Regions from separate parts of the Homo sapiens genome. Here all the other regions are linked to region 2. The links are contacts of gene promoters, found by promoter capture Hi-C in blood cells and fetal thymus (Javierre and others, 2016). All regions are on one chromosome and are shown on one strand. The core of a region is centred on a gene start or on the middle of the fragment in contact, and the rest is flanking DNA. Distances in the headings are between cores, read along the strand shown. Region 1 overlaps SPTLC3 (serine palmitoyltransferase long chain base subunit 3). Region 2 holds the start of ISM1 (isthmin 1). Region 3 overlaps ISM1 (isthmin 1). Region 4 has its middle 69 kb from the start of ISM1-AS1. Region 5 overlaps SPTLC3 (serine palmitoyltransferase long chain base subunit 3).

Evidence for each region. Contacts are between HindIII fragments. The CHiCAGO score rates a contact against its expected background, and 5 or more counts as called.
Region 1: a contact is called between a fragment that was not itself captured here and the fragment with the promoter of ISM1 in region 2, in 1 of 17 cell types (naive CD4 T cells). The highest score is 7.2, in naive CD4 T cells.
Region 3: a contact is called between a fragment that was not itself captured here and the fragment with the promoter of ISM1 in region 2, in 1 of 17 cell types (naive CD4 T cells). The highest score is 5.2, in naive CD4 T cells.
Region 4: a fragment that was not itself captured here is called in contact with the fragment with the promoter of ISM1 in region 2 in 1 of 17 cell types (naive CD4 T cells); the score reaches 5.2 in naive CD4 T cells.
Region 5: a contact is called between a fragment that was not itself captured here and the fragment with the promoter of ISM1 in region 2, in 2 of 17 cell types (naive CD4 T cells and non-activated CD4 T cells). The highest score is 6.7, in naive CD4 T cells.

The regions. Positions count from the first base shown.
Region 1 is chr20:13,126,886-13,129,585 of GRCh38, reverse strand. All of the region lies in intron 9 of SPTLC3 (serine palmitoyltransferase long chain base subunit 3), which reads right to left. It also overlaps a transcript of TASP1 not described here. Among named protein-coding and RNA genes, the nearest start is that of ISM1, 93 kb to the left of the region's middle. The HindIII fragment of the contact is 2,181 bases long and covers 222-2,402 here.
Region 2 is chr20:13,219,901-13,222,600 of GRCh38, reverse strand. It overlaps ISM1 (isthmin 1), which reads right to left and starts at 1,327. Exons shown (of 6, transcript NM_080826.2): 1 at 687-1,327. The coding sequence starts at 824. It also overlaps a transcript of TASP1 not described here. RefSeq lists silencers at 896-965, 1,425-1,544. The HindIII fragment of the contact is 8,964 bases long and covers 1-2,700 here.
Region 3 is chr20:13,288,762-13,291,461 of GRCh38, reverse strand. All of the region lies in intron 4 of ISM1 (isthmin 1), which reads right to left. It also overlaps a transcript of TASP1 not described here. Among named protein-coding and RNA genes, the nearest start is that of ISM1-AS1, 50 kb to the right of the region's middle. The HindIII fragment of the contact is 2,878 bases long and covers 1-2,700 here.
Region 4 is chr20:13,306,902-13,309,601 of GRCh38, reverse strand. It overlaps a transcript of TASP1 not described here and a transcript of ISM1 not described here. Among named protein-coding and RNA genes, the nearest start is that of ISM1-AS1, 69 kb to the right of the region's middle. The HindIII fragment of the contact is 2,375 bases long and covers 111-2,485 here.
Region 5 is chr20:13,109,014-13,111,713 of GRCh38, reverse strand. It overlaps SPTLC3 (serine palmitoyltransferase long chain base subunit 3), which reads right to left. Exons shown (of 12, transcript NM_018327.4): 7 at 1,497-1,602. It also overlaps a transcript of TASP1 not described here. Among named protein-coding and RNA genes, the nearest start is that of SPTLC3, 100 kb to the right of the region's middle. The HindIII fragment of the contact is 1,328 bases long and covers 600-1,927 here.

The sequences.
Region 1 (2,700 bases), core at 63-2,562, 93 kb after region 2:
CAAGCTAATTTCTAGAATAACTTTTTCCTAGTCACTTGTCTTTAAAACAAGACCAAAGAATAATTCTAGTCATTCTGAGACAATTCAGTTAACTTGCATTTTTGCTTAAATCTCAAATAATTGATTTTCCATTAAGAAACACTTGAAGTTTAAGAAGAGAATTAATATGGCTTTGTGGGAAGCCAGTAGTTCCAGAACAGTTTTTCATACAGCAGAAAGCTTGTGGAGGAAAAGATGCCACTCTATCTCGCTTCAATGTTAAAAGGTTAAAAGATACCTGTTTAAGACAGGCACAGTGGCTCACGCCTGTAATCCCAGCACTTTAGGAGCCTGGGGTGGGCAAATCACTTGAGGCCAGGTGTTCCCGACCAGCATGGCCAACGTGGTGAAACCCCGTCTCGACTACAAATACAAAAATTGGCCAGGTGTGGTGGCTCGTGCCTGTAATCCCAGTGCTTTGGGAGGCCGAGGCAGGCAGATCACCCGAGGTCAGGAGTTTGAGACCAATCTGGCGAGACCCCATCTCTACTAAAAATACAAAAATAGCCAGGCATGGTGGGGGACACCTGTAATCCCAGCTACTCGGGAGGCTGAGGCAGGAGTATTGCTTGAACCCAGGAGGCGGAGGTTGCAGTGAGCTGAGATCGCACCATTGTACTCCAGCTTGGGTGACAAGAGCGAAACTCTGTCTCCAAAAAAAAAAAAAAAAAAAAATTAGCTGGGCATGGTGGTGCATGCCTGTTGGTGCACACCTGTAGTCCTGACTACTCAGGAGGCTAAGGCAGGAGAATCACTTGAGTCTGGGAGGTGGAGGTTGTAGTGAGCCAAGATCATGTCACTGCCCTTCAGCCTGGGTGACAGAGCAAGACTCTGTCTCAAATTTTAAAAAAACCCAAAAAACAAAAAAGAACCTCCTCCCCCTCCAAAATAAAAGGTACCTGTTTATCCAATGTCTGTATCCCTTAATTTACCCCTACCTCTTTTCAGGGGTGTGGCCATATGACTAGTTTTAGCCAATAATTGTAAGCAAGGTGATAAGAGTCACCTCTAGGCTGACCCTCTCTTTCTTTTTACCTTGGTAACCATGGGGGCCATGTGTTGAGATGATGAACCCTTAAGGTGAAAGCAGCCTGAGTCACTGTCTTCAAGGACAAGCACTGTGTAGAGAGTTGACTGATTGGTATTAGATGTGATGCAAACAAGAAATACCTTGGTTCTGTTAAGCCACTGAGATCTACAGGGTTTATTTGTTATGGTGGCAAAACCTCCCTTATCCTGACTAATCCAGGATCTTAGAGGACATCTAGTCCTACTTCACTTCTGTCATAAGGATGCTTCCTACAGCATCTCTGAGAAATGCTTCAAATACTTGTCGATCACCTCAGAAACAACAGCAAATAATAGTAGCAAGCAATTATACAATGCTTACTGATACTTGTCTCCAGACACAATGTTAAATATTTTGTACAGATTAATTTGCCTACTTCTCACAAAAACCTTGGCTCATAAATATTGTTTTTCTCACTTCATAACTGGATGAATTGAAGTACAGAGAAGTTGAGTAACTTGCTCAGGGTTGAATAGATAAGTCACTCATCTAAGGCCACATACGAGTGAATAGTATCACAGGAGCAGATTCAGGCAGCTACCTTCAGTCTCATACCATAAGGGCTTCCTAGACTGGACTGTCGTTTTCTTTTCACAAAGACCAACCAATAGGATGCAGAGTCATAACACCGAAAAGGCAAGCCTGGAAGGGATCCTAGAGATCAGCCAATCACCGCATTTCATATGGAGGAAAAAATATCCTCCTGCAGGCCTTTACCCTGCTTTAGTGAAAAAGAAAAAGTCTTGTCTTTCAAACAAGTGTCTTGGGGAGCACTAGGGCTCAGTAGAAGGGCCCCAGGGGGTATCAGTATGGGGGTAAGTGAAGACACTACTTTAACTAGATCAGCCTTGTTCTTATCTGTTTTATATAGTAGGCTTCTAGCAAAATTTGTATGTGAATATTCTGCTGCTTTAATAATATTGAAAACTGATGGAGTACCCCATACTTCTACTGAAATAGCAGGCTTGAAGCATTGCATTAAACAATGTAGGACTTCAGGTCAGCTGGGAGGTGGGGTGAGGCACATAGATTGTACAGTCCAGTGGCCAGGATAAATTGCTACTTCCATAAATGTGCTCACCAGTTTGCCTGGCAGCAAGAACTGCCTTATTCAGCACCGTATCCCCTCTGGTGTGTGACATGTGGTAGAATCTGTATAAACCATCTCTGCAAGATGGAGGGAGAGTTCCAAGAGGCTTTTATGAAACAATTTTTCAAAAAGAGGATTAATTTGGGTTGAGCAAAGTAGCACAGTTTAGCTCTGGTCCCACTGACAAAGAAATGGCTGGAAGCTTATTGTGTGTGTTTTGTCTATATATCCTCAATGGCCAGTGGTGGCCTTCCACTGTCCAACCTCTGGCTATAAAAAATAAAAGGATTGAAAAATTGGATATTAAATTGGCTACTTTGGTCTTAGGGAAACACAAGTGACAGCCCCAAGCAAGCACAGGCAAACATGTGCACGCTCACGTGCGCGCACACACACGCACACAAACAATATTTGCTTAATTTCAACAGAATTGATCACACAAAATTATCGAAATTTGCTGTTCACAATGAGGTAAATTAGAAAGTTTTCTTTGCTTTAACAA
Region 2 (2,700 bases), core at 78-2,577:
CTTTGCTACAAGTTTAAAAGCCCCAGGTAACCCTGGCCCAAATCACTACCGGTGCCTTCACTCTGCACCTTCCCCATGACCAAGGGGGCACAAGGGGGGAGGGGGGAACCTCAGGCGAGGCTCCCGGAGGAAGAGGAACACTGGAAGCAAGGGAACCCTGAGGGTGAGGAGGGGATGCCTGGCTATTCTCCTTGGGAAATTATGTCCTGACCTTTGGCATTGCTTCCTAAAGGGGTAGACTCCCGGAGTTCTTTCTCCCAAAGACTTCAGGGATATCATCCTATAAAGTCTCCTTGCGTCCCTCCAGCCTCGAGTAACATTACTCAGCCTCCGAAGGGCAACGAAAGACTGGTAGCACCCCCAAGCAAGCACATTCTCCACACTTCCTCTGCTCATCCCAAACCTCGCTCCTTCCCACCTCCCCACCAACCCCGCACCTGACCCGTGACAGACAGAACTGAAGGAGCGCAGCCCGCAGACCTGGAAGCCGGGTGCAGCCTCCAGGCACGTGCCCCCGCTCCGCCTCTGCCTAAGTCAAGTGGCCCGGGCAAAACTACTGCCAAAACAGTTGCTCTTAGGTGGGGCAGGGGACCTGCCTCCCTGCATCCACCCGGCACTAGCTCAGCACCCCCGCCCCACAAACCGTCCCCGCAGCCGCGCACGGCCCTCTCCGGCGGCGCACTCACCTGCAGCTGGGCTTGGCTGGCGTTGCCCGCGGCCGCGTCGGGCCCGTCGGCGGCTCCCGAGCCGCGCAGCACGGTGATGTGCAGCGTGAGCAGCAGCAGCCCCAGCAGCAGCAGCAGCTCGGCCGCCAGGCGCACCATCCTTTTGAGACGCGCGGCTTTAGGACCCGGCGCGGCGGCCGGCGGCGGCGGCGGTGACGCCGGGGGAGGAGGAGTAGGAGCCCGGGAGCCCGGCAGCGCGGCTCCCGCCTCGGCTCCCGCCAGGGCTCCGCTTCCCGGGCCCGCGGGGCTGGCGCTGGGCGCGGCGGGGTGTGCGGGGCCGGGGGAGCAGGAGCTGCCGGCGCCGCCGCCGCCGCCGCCGCCGCACCACGGCGGAGCCACCGCGAGGCCGGGGGTGTCCAAGCCGGCTGCGGAGCAAGCCCCGGCGCTGCCTGGCGGCGGCGGCGGCGGAGACGGAGACTGGGTCCCGGGACAGCCCGGGACCCGGGCCGGGCCGGAGGCCACCCTGCTGGCAGGGGGCTGCGGGGTCGGCGGCGGGGCGGGCGCAGCCGAGCCCCCGAGCGCACATGGGCGCCCCAGATGTGGCCGCGGCGCCGCAGCTGGAGCGGGAGCGGCCGCCAGAGAAGCGCGGGGAGGAGGAGGAGGAGAAGGAGAAGGAGGAGGAGGAGGAGGAGGAGGAGGAGGAGGAGGAGGAGGAGTAGGAGGGCTTCAGCTGCGGCCGGGAGTTACCTCCACGCTTGGCGCCCCCGCCCTCGCCGCCCCGAGCCACTCACCCGGCAAGCCACCTCCACTACTCTCCGCGCTCCTCGGGGCCGCCTGCCGCGCCGCCCCGCACTCGGAGTCCCGGGGAGGGCCGGTTCCAGATGGGGGCCCCGGGCACACCGAGGTTGTCACGGTTTGGCGGTAGCCGGGGCGCCCTCGGCGGCAGCGTCAGCCTGCCGGGCTGTACCAAGTGCCCGCTGCCGAGGTCGCTGTGACGGGCGCGGGTAGAGCCCTTGTGCACACTGAGGCTCGGGGCTGTGGGTGGGTGGGGTGGTGCCTGGGCTGCTTTAGAAACCTTTATTGGCAAACTGGAGCTGGAGTTGCAGTGATGGAAAACGGAGGGGGCGCCGGACAAGCCATGCGTCTGCCTGCGACCCCTGCCTGAAGCAGTCGGGGGAGAGGAGGAGTGCCAAAGTGTCGTTCCGAAGGGTCTTGACACTTGCTGGGCCGCCCGCTAGCCGGGCACGGCTGTTCGCGGATCCGCGGCGCCCCGTAGAGCCTGGGAAGGGAGGGGAGTCCGACTCTCTAGGCGTTCGTCTGGTCACGGGCGCAGGTGTTGGCTGGAAGCTGCAGAGACGCAGTGCCCGCGGCTCAGGCGCTCAGGAACTCGGAGTGAATCTCAGCTCTAGTGGGCTTGCCTCTGTGGGGGGCTCATCCCGGGGGTGCCGCGCCCAGAGGGGATTTGGGGGCTGGCGTCGCGCAGCTGTCGATCCCGGGCCACCGCCTCATGACCGCGCTGCAGCCTCGGGCTCCCGCGTGCGGCTCATGCCTTGCAGTGGGCGGTTGGCGAATGGAAGGGCTCTGGGATCCGGCTGAGGGCGCGGAGTCCGAGCGTCAGATGCTAGAGCGAACTGTGTCGGTCCGTGGCACCGCGCACTTCCCTCCTTGACCTTGCTCGGGCTCCCGCCTTACCGAAGTGACTCGGAGTAGCGGACGCTCAGTCCGGCCGGGACTTTTATACTGCGCTTCCCCTCCTCCTACCCGTTCCCTCCCTTCCTCCTCCCCAGCGCCGGCCCAGCCCTTCCCTCCCAGCGAGCCAAGACCTAGTCCACGCGTTCGCACACAGCCGCGTCGCACATTTCCAAGCCTTTCCCGCGTCCCGGACCCCAGTGCCTCCGGGATGGAGCCTCCGAATTCTCCCTTGGTGAATGAAATTAAATAAATAATCAACTCTTTCTTGACGGCACGCCTCCCTTTCCCCCTCCCCAATTTCCTACCTTCCTTCTCCGCGTCCTAGAAAGATTTAAGATTCTTA
Region 3 (2,700 bases), core at 50-2,549, 69 kb before region 2:
TTTTATGTGAGGCACCTCAAACTTATTTGCAGGGTTGACCTACAGGACAAACTTTTACAGTGTAATAACTGCCAGGCCAGGGAGACTTTGCCCCATGAGTCTTTCCAGGAAAGCTGGGAATCAACGAATCAAACAAGTAAAGAGATCCTTAAAAACGAAATCCTTCATGTTACAAGGGAGCCCAGAAAAGCTGCAATAGCCAGGAACTGAGAGGCAGAAAGGATGCAAGGAGGGTGAGGACACACGAGAAGAAAAGGTATGAAGAGGGCTCCTGGCCACACTGCTCTCCGCGGTGACAGAAAACAAGAAGGAAACATTTGTAAATGGAGGCAGAGGGGAGCCTTCCCCTGACAAGGCACTTAAATCTACCACCTTGAGTCTGGATGTGAGCTCTGGAAGAGAAAACAACAGGAAAGCCCCCAAACCTTGACTTCAAATGCTATCTGTGTCCCTGTGTGGCTGATTCCAATACCCTTCTCTTGGTAAAGACCAAAGAGTTTAATGATTAAGAATATGAACTCTGTAATCAGACTGTCCGGATTCAAATTCCAGGTTGATCACTTGCTTTCTGTGTGACTCTAGGCAAGTTAATCCTCTATGCCTCAGTTACTATAGCTGTCGAATGAGTACAATCATAAATACCTATTTCATAAAGTTATTGTGAACATTAAACAAAATAATACCTGTAAGGACTTTAGCCATTTGCTTGACACTTAAGTACTCAAAAAATCTTCTTCATCATCATCTATTTTATTTTTTCTTCTTCACCTTTATCTTCATTTTCTTTCTTTCTTTTTTTGTTTTGAGACGGAGTCTTGCTCTGTCGCCCGGGCTGGAGTGCAGTGGCCCGATCTCGGCTCACTTGGCTCACTGCAAGCTCCGCCTCCCGGGTTCCTGCCATTCTCCTGCCTCAGCCTCCCGAGTAGCTGGGACTACAGGCGCCCGCCACCATGCCCGACTAATATTTTGTATTTTTAGTAGAGACGGCATTTCACCGTGTTAGCCAGGATGGTCTCGATCTCCTGACCTTGTGATCTGCCCGCCTCGGCCTCCCAAAGTGCTGGGATTACAGGCATGAGCCACCGCACCAGGCAATCTTCATTTTCTTTTGCCTCATCTTTTTACCTTCATCATTATTTTCGTTTACTTCATATTCTTCTCTTTTTCATTTCCTTCCTGTTTCCCTCTTCCTCCTCCTCATATTGTTATTATTTATTGCTTATTTCTACACATCCAGATTCCACCCACCAGGCTTCCAACTCAGCTCATCCTAATGAGCATGGGAAAGTCAGGAAAAGCACCGTAATGGTTGCTCCACTGTTTTGAAATCCATCTGCATGGCTGACATGGAGCCAGAACCGCCACTTCTTGCATTTCAGCCCTGTTTTCTACGTGTCCCCTTTTGCTAACATACACATTCATTCCAATCTGATTCTTCCTCCCTCTCCTCAGAAACGCCTTTGTGCTTTCATTTCTCCTTTGTTCCAAATGTCTCTGGTTGGAGAACTGAGTGTCTAAGGTAGAAAAAGGAAGTCTGGGGTGTAAGGATCAGATTTTCTGTCTCTGAAATTTTTTTCAGCCAAAGCCATTTGGAATGTGTGGTTTCTTGAAAGGCTCTAAGATATTATTTTAGGCTGGTATTCTACCTGGCAATGGGAAATACACAGTAAGACTATACACCAGGAGTTACTAAGCCTTTTTTAAAGGGTCAGAGGGTACATATTTTAGGTTTTGTGGGTCACATATGGTCTTGGTTGCAGCTTCCTCCTCCTCTTCCTCCTCCTCCCCCTCCTCCTCCTCCTTCTCTTCCTCCATGCCCTTCCCCTTCTCTTCTTCCTCCTCCTTCTCTTTCTTCTTCTCTTCACAACAGTTTAAAAATGTATGGGACACACAAAAACAGGTCTCGAGCCAGACCTGGCCATAGTTTGACAACCACTGCTATAGTCAATCACAATTATTGTTGACTCTCAACATGACCTCTCACCAAGTGTGCAATTAGTTTAGTTTTTGAAGCACTGACAATGCAGTATAAAGTGACAGTTAACTACCAAGACGCCCCAGGTTGCGCTCCTGGGAGCCTTTGGCAACTCTCTGGTATTACCGGTGGGGCTGTCTTTTTCCTGCAGATGGTTGTCAAGCCTCTCATCCTGGCTTCCTCATCAGACCATGAGTGTCTGCCTTCTGTTTCTCTTCAAGGGACAACAAATCCCACATCAAAAACCCAATCTAACCAGAGTCCCTCCTCTAAATTAAATAAGTACAATGCGACATTGTCTTTTAGGTCACGGCCACTGCAATTGTGCATAAGACTCAGAAAATCCATTCAGCTCATCAATTATCTCCTGACTCACTCTGGTCAGAAGTCTTATTAGAAAAGTAGTTACATCTTGCCTCATGCCTGTAATCCCAGCACCTTGGGAGGCTGAGGCGGGCGGATCACAAGGTCAGGAATTTGAGACCAACCTGGCCAACATGGTGAAACCCCTTCTCTACTTAAAAAACTACAAAAATTAGCCAGGCATGGTGGCATGTGCCTGTAATCCCAGCTACTCAGGAGGCTGAGGCAGGAGAATTGCTTGAACCCAGGAGGTGGAGATTGCAGTGAGCTGAGATTGTGCCACTGCACTCCAGCCTGGGCGACAGGGAGAGACTCCGTCTCAAAAAAAAAAAGAAAAGAAAAGTAGTGCATCTTTTAAAAAG
Region 4 (2,700 bases), core at 49-2,548, 87 kb before region 2:
TTGTTCTGGCTAAGATTTCCAGAACTGTGCTGAATATAAGCAGTAAGAGTGAGCATGCTTGTCTTGTTCCTGATCTTGGAGGAAAAGCTTTTCACTGATGGTTAAAAGCTTTAATGAACTTTTCACTGATGAGTATGATGTTAGCTGTGGGCTTGTGCTATATGGTCTTGATTGTGTTGAGGTGCATTTCTTCTACACCTAATTCATTGAGAGTTTTTATTATGAAATAATATTCAATTTTGTCAAATACTCTCTTCATCTCTTGAGATGAGCATAAAATGTTTTGTCCTTTATTCTGTTAGGCTTTTTTTTTTTAAAGAAATAAAATGTTACCTCTAAAGTATCCCCTCCTCCACCCACTCACTGTCATTCATCTCAGAGGTAACTATTGTCTTGAAGTTGGTGCTTAGTCTTCCCATGCATAGTTTAGTATTTTTATTATGTATGTTGGTGTCCAGATATAATGTAGCCTTGCATTGTGAGTTTTAAATTATTAAAATTGTATACTACTTTCATATACTGTCTTAGTCAGTTCAGGCTGATACAACAAACTACCATAGACTGAGTGGCCTATAAACAACAGAAATGTATTTCTCACATTTCTGGAGGCTGGAAGTCTGAGATCAAGGTGCTAGCATGGCCAGATTTTGCTGAGAGTCCTCTTCTGGTTTATAGACTGCTGACCTCTCATTTTGTGCTTACATGGTGGAAAGAGGGCAAGAGAGCTCTCTCGGGGTCCCTTTTGTAAGGATGCTAATCTCATTCATGTGGGTTCCACCCTCATGACCTAATAACCTCCCATAAGCTGCACCTCCGAATATCATAACTTTGGGGGTTAGGATTTCAACATTTAAATTTTGGGGGAACACAAATGTTCTGTACCTAACATGCATCCATCTGTAATTTTCTTTTTCAGACAGTATAGACACATTTTTGACAATACGAATAGCCTAGATCATTTAACAGCTGGATTGTATTCTCTATTATGAACTTAACATGGTTGATTTGTCTGTTCCTCTGTTGGTGGACAATTTAAACTGTTTCCACTTTTTGACAATACAAAAACAGGCCCTCAGGAGTGAAACTGATGCATCCAGCTATGTGGCAGATTCAACTTACTAGATATAGGCAAAGTACTGTTCAATTCATAACACCATAAGCGGTGATGGTAAGAGTTTCTGTTTCCTCATCGCCTTGCCAAGACTTGGAATCATTGGGTTTATTTTCCTAAATAATAATGTATAAATTCTGGCTCACTAGTTATTACTGCCATAATTAATCACACCCTCATTTGGTCCCATGGTACCATTTACATTGTATTACAAGCATCTGAGTTACATCAGATTCACACTGTGTTACAGACACCCCCACTGGGCCATTCATTCATTGATGATGGATTCCTGTCTATTCCTTTTTGTGTCCCCAGCACGCAGCACAGTGAATGGGGCTCAGTATGCACGTATTGAGTTAAACATAAATAATTAAGAGATCACAGAGTGGAGTAGTCAGGAAAGACAGTGAAGGGGGTGAAATTGAGATTGGCTAAAGAATGGGAACTTTCAAACACTCCTAAACGGAGTGTCCACCAGGACAACCACTTTGGAAAACTACTGGGCAGTATCAACTAAAGCTGTGCATGCCCTATGACCTTCTAATTCCACTCCCCATGGAAATGTGTGAATACGCACACCCAAAAGCACACCCTGGACTGTCCATAGTAGCACTCTTTGTGAAAGCCCCAATCTAGAAACAATCCAAATGTTCCTCCATGGTAGAACTGTTAAATAAAATTGTGATATATTCACACATTGGAAATGTGATAAGCATGAATGACCTTTAGCTGCAAGCAGCGATATGGAAGAATTTCACAATCCAATATTGAGCAAAATATGCCAGACCTCACAGAGCGGGTGCTGTACGATTCCATTTACCCGAAGGTCAAAATCAGACAAAACTAATCTGGTGTAAAATTCATGATACTGATTATTCTTGGTGAGGAGTGAGTGCCCGTTACTGGACGGGGGCATGGGAGTGCTGGTTTTGCCTTATTTATTTTGTGTTGTGGTAAAATTTACATACAAAGAAATTCAGTTTTTAAAAAGTGTACACTTCAGTGAGTTTTGACAATCAAACCACACAATATATAGAACATTTCTGTAGCCCCAGAGAGCTCCTTCATGAGCCTTATATTCTGTTTTTTCTTGGTGTTGGTATGGATGTTGGTGACATGGGTGTATTCACTTTGTGAAAATTCATTGAGCCGTGAACTTATGATACGTGTGTGCTTTTCTGAATGTATGTACTACTTCCATAAAATGTTCCAAAAGTATTTTGAAAAAGACTGGCCCAAAGGATGGCCAATTGGCTATAAGAGGGTCAAATGTGTGGCCGAGGGGATGGGAGGAATGCTGTGGGGAGGTTGACTGGAATGGTGCTGTGTAGACATAGTGAAGAGTGGAACAGAAAGTGAGTTTGATGTTAAGCTTCAGCTTTATACATTTGCTGCTGGTGAGTAGTGTGAACAAGCCTTTATCTTTCTGGCACTGGATCAGCTGCTTTTGTTCTTTCTCTCTCCCTCCAATATCCTGTAATAGCAGGAGGGAGCCCTCAAGAGGGATTCAAATGTGGTCTTTTTCCTGAAACACAGAGCAGGTGGCCTTGGGCTCCACTCTCTAGGATCCCCAGGTGAGGATCCTGACA
Region 5 (2,700 bases), core at 14-2,513, 110 kb after region 2:
AATCTAGGCCTGAATGACAGGTGTTTAGATAAGGGCTATTTGCTCCCCTCCCAGGCTGGCAGCAGGCACAAATCACACAGGGAAAAAGATCCATGCTTGAGGTTATGACAGCCCAGAGTCAATATGAGATTATTTCTTAAAATTGCAAGTTAAGGCCTACGAGTTGTCAGTTATACCAGAACAGGTTTTCTCAGCCTTAGCACTATCGACATTTTGAGCTAGATAACTCTGTGTTGTAGGGGCTGTCCCATGCATCGTAGGATGCTTGGCAGCATCCCTGGCCTCTGTCCACCATATGCCAGTCACACACTACTGCAGTTATAATGACTGAAAATCGCCAAATGTGCCTAGGCTGGGGCAAGGACAAGCTCACCCTGGAGAACTACTATGTCTAGAGTGCTCCCAAAGACTTCATCAACAGTACATACTCTCTGGGCTGGCTGGAGGAGGTAATGGTAGGTGATGCAGAAAGTGAGCTGGTAGAAACTGGAAATGCAAACTTTGCATTTCCCACAGTAGGACTGGGAACATCCAGAACCCTAACCATGGGGGCAGAAGTACTGGAGTTAAAAATGTTAAAAATAAAATGAAACCAAGCTTCTTATTATTATTATTTTAGAGTTGGGAGAATTCACTTTTTTTTTCTTAAAAGGAATAAAGGCACACTTCTGCTGCTGCTCATTATCCACTCATGCAGCAGAAAAAATGTGCACTCAGGGACTAATGAGATTAGCGGGCTGAAAGAAATCCTATGTCTATCCTCAAGTCTCCTTTGTAGCCACACTCCTCCTTGTCTTAAAGTTGAACAGCCTTCACTTCCTTCCTTTTAATATTTTTCACTTTTCTATCATTATAGGAGATATCCCCCTCAATTTGCCTAACGTCAGGATTGTTTGAGAATTGATTCAGGATTGGGCACTCTGAAATAATGTCTCCTTGGCTTATGGACTAGACATCAGCCCATTCCTACCCGCTGGCTCTGGAACAAGAATTGCACCCCAGGTTACTCCTACCTTGGGGAAAACAGGCAGATCTTTTGTATTGATGGCAATCACTAACAAAGTTCAGCAAGCAGCTGGGGGTTGGGCGTGCTGTCCAGGTAGGGGCATCCGGGCCACCCATCAACAATTTCTACCAGTCATAAAGGCAAGGAGTGTTTTGATCTTGAATAACCCAGCTGCGAAACGCCTTTGAAACTCTGGGGCAGTCAAAGGTAGTGGAAAGATCAACTCAAGTTAGCAATGCCTTGAGAGGATATTTCTGAGGAAGCCTTCACAAGCCGGCCAGCCTCCAAGCTGCTGTGCCATATATAGAGTCATCAAAAAGACAGATAACCCACGTCTGACAGCTCCCATTGGTGGCTCTGTCTCAGGTCCCTGTGTCATATAACCAATTCTAAGTCATTTCTCTGTTTAGCTAGGAAAGGTGAGCCTTTCCGCACTGGTCAGCTTGCTGCAGGCCTCCGAGTCGTAAAATGTGTCCTGTTATTTACATACCTGTAGACACCCTCCACCAGGATGAGAATCTTTTTCCAAGCTCTGCGGGTTCGAGGCTGGCCATAGATGACAGCATCTCTCAGGAGCTTCTCTAGGCTTTGTGTGTCTTTAAATAATACCAAAAAAAAAAATTGAGTCATGAAAGGGTTTACTTTTCCTTTTCCACTTTCTTTTTCCAGATGTTTTATGTTCACACTCAGACCTAAACTTTCAGAGAACAAATTCAGAATCAGAGAACCCTTAGGGAGAGAGAGACAGAGGTCTATTTTTCAGTAGAACTTAACTCTGACAAGACAAATAGTTGGATTTGTACAAGTAGGCAGAGTAAACTCTCACCAGTGGGGCATGGTTTCCTAGGCTCTTAAAGGCTCTCCCCGCCTGCCTTAGAGAGATTGAAATTCTACGTTAAATGCATCTCTTAGGTCTAAGCTTTGTTGCAGGCTGAAATGAACTCTGAGAGACATAATTAATACCACTCATCAATCGTGTAGACATGAGCATGTTAGAGTTTAGCTGAGTTTGCACGGATCTCACTTCCTACACTTTGAGCCTTGATTTCTGACATCCCCCAGTCTTAGAAGTTTCAAAACTTTAAAGCAGTGGGACAATTAAGCCTCTTTTTCAAAATATTTGGGGATCTCTGAACACAATAATAGCTCACAGTTATTGAGCCCTATCTGTGTGCCAGGCACCCTTCTAAGCTCAGTTTTTGTCATACCTCATTTAATCCTCATAAGAACCATCTGGAGGAAGTACTAGTAGCATTTCCATTCTGTGGTTCAGGAAACTGAGACACAGAGGAGTTGAGTAAACTGCCTGAGGTCTATCATAAGCAACAGAATCAGGATTTGAACCCATGTAGTCTGTACTGTAATCCACATTTGTAACACTACCCTTTGCTGCCTTATGTGAAAGCCATTGTCCCTTCTTCTCAAATGAAATGGTGATGTAGAACAAGGGAGGATGAATGTCTGGCAGAATAATCTTGTTAACTTCTAATGTCAAATATAATCAATAGTGACAATTCATTTATCTGCTATCAGAGGTTGATGACTGGGCTTGGGTTGAGAGGTCATTTAGAAGAACTTGCCTACCAACCTAGCTGTTTGGTATATATGTACATGTGTGTGTATTATTTTGTTTTTAACATTTAAGCCTAGCAAGAAAAAAATGGCCGAGGTTTATGGGCATATTTTTTAGACTG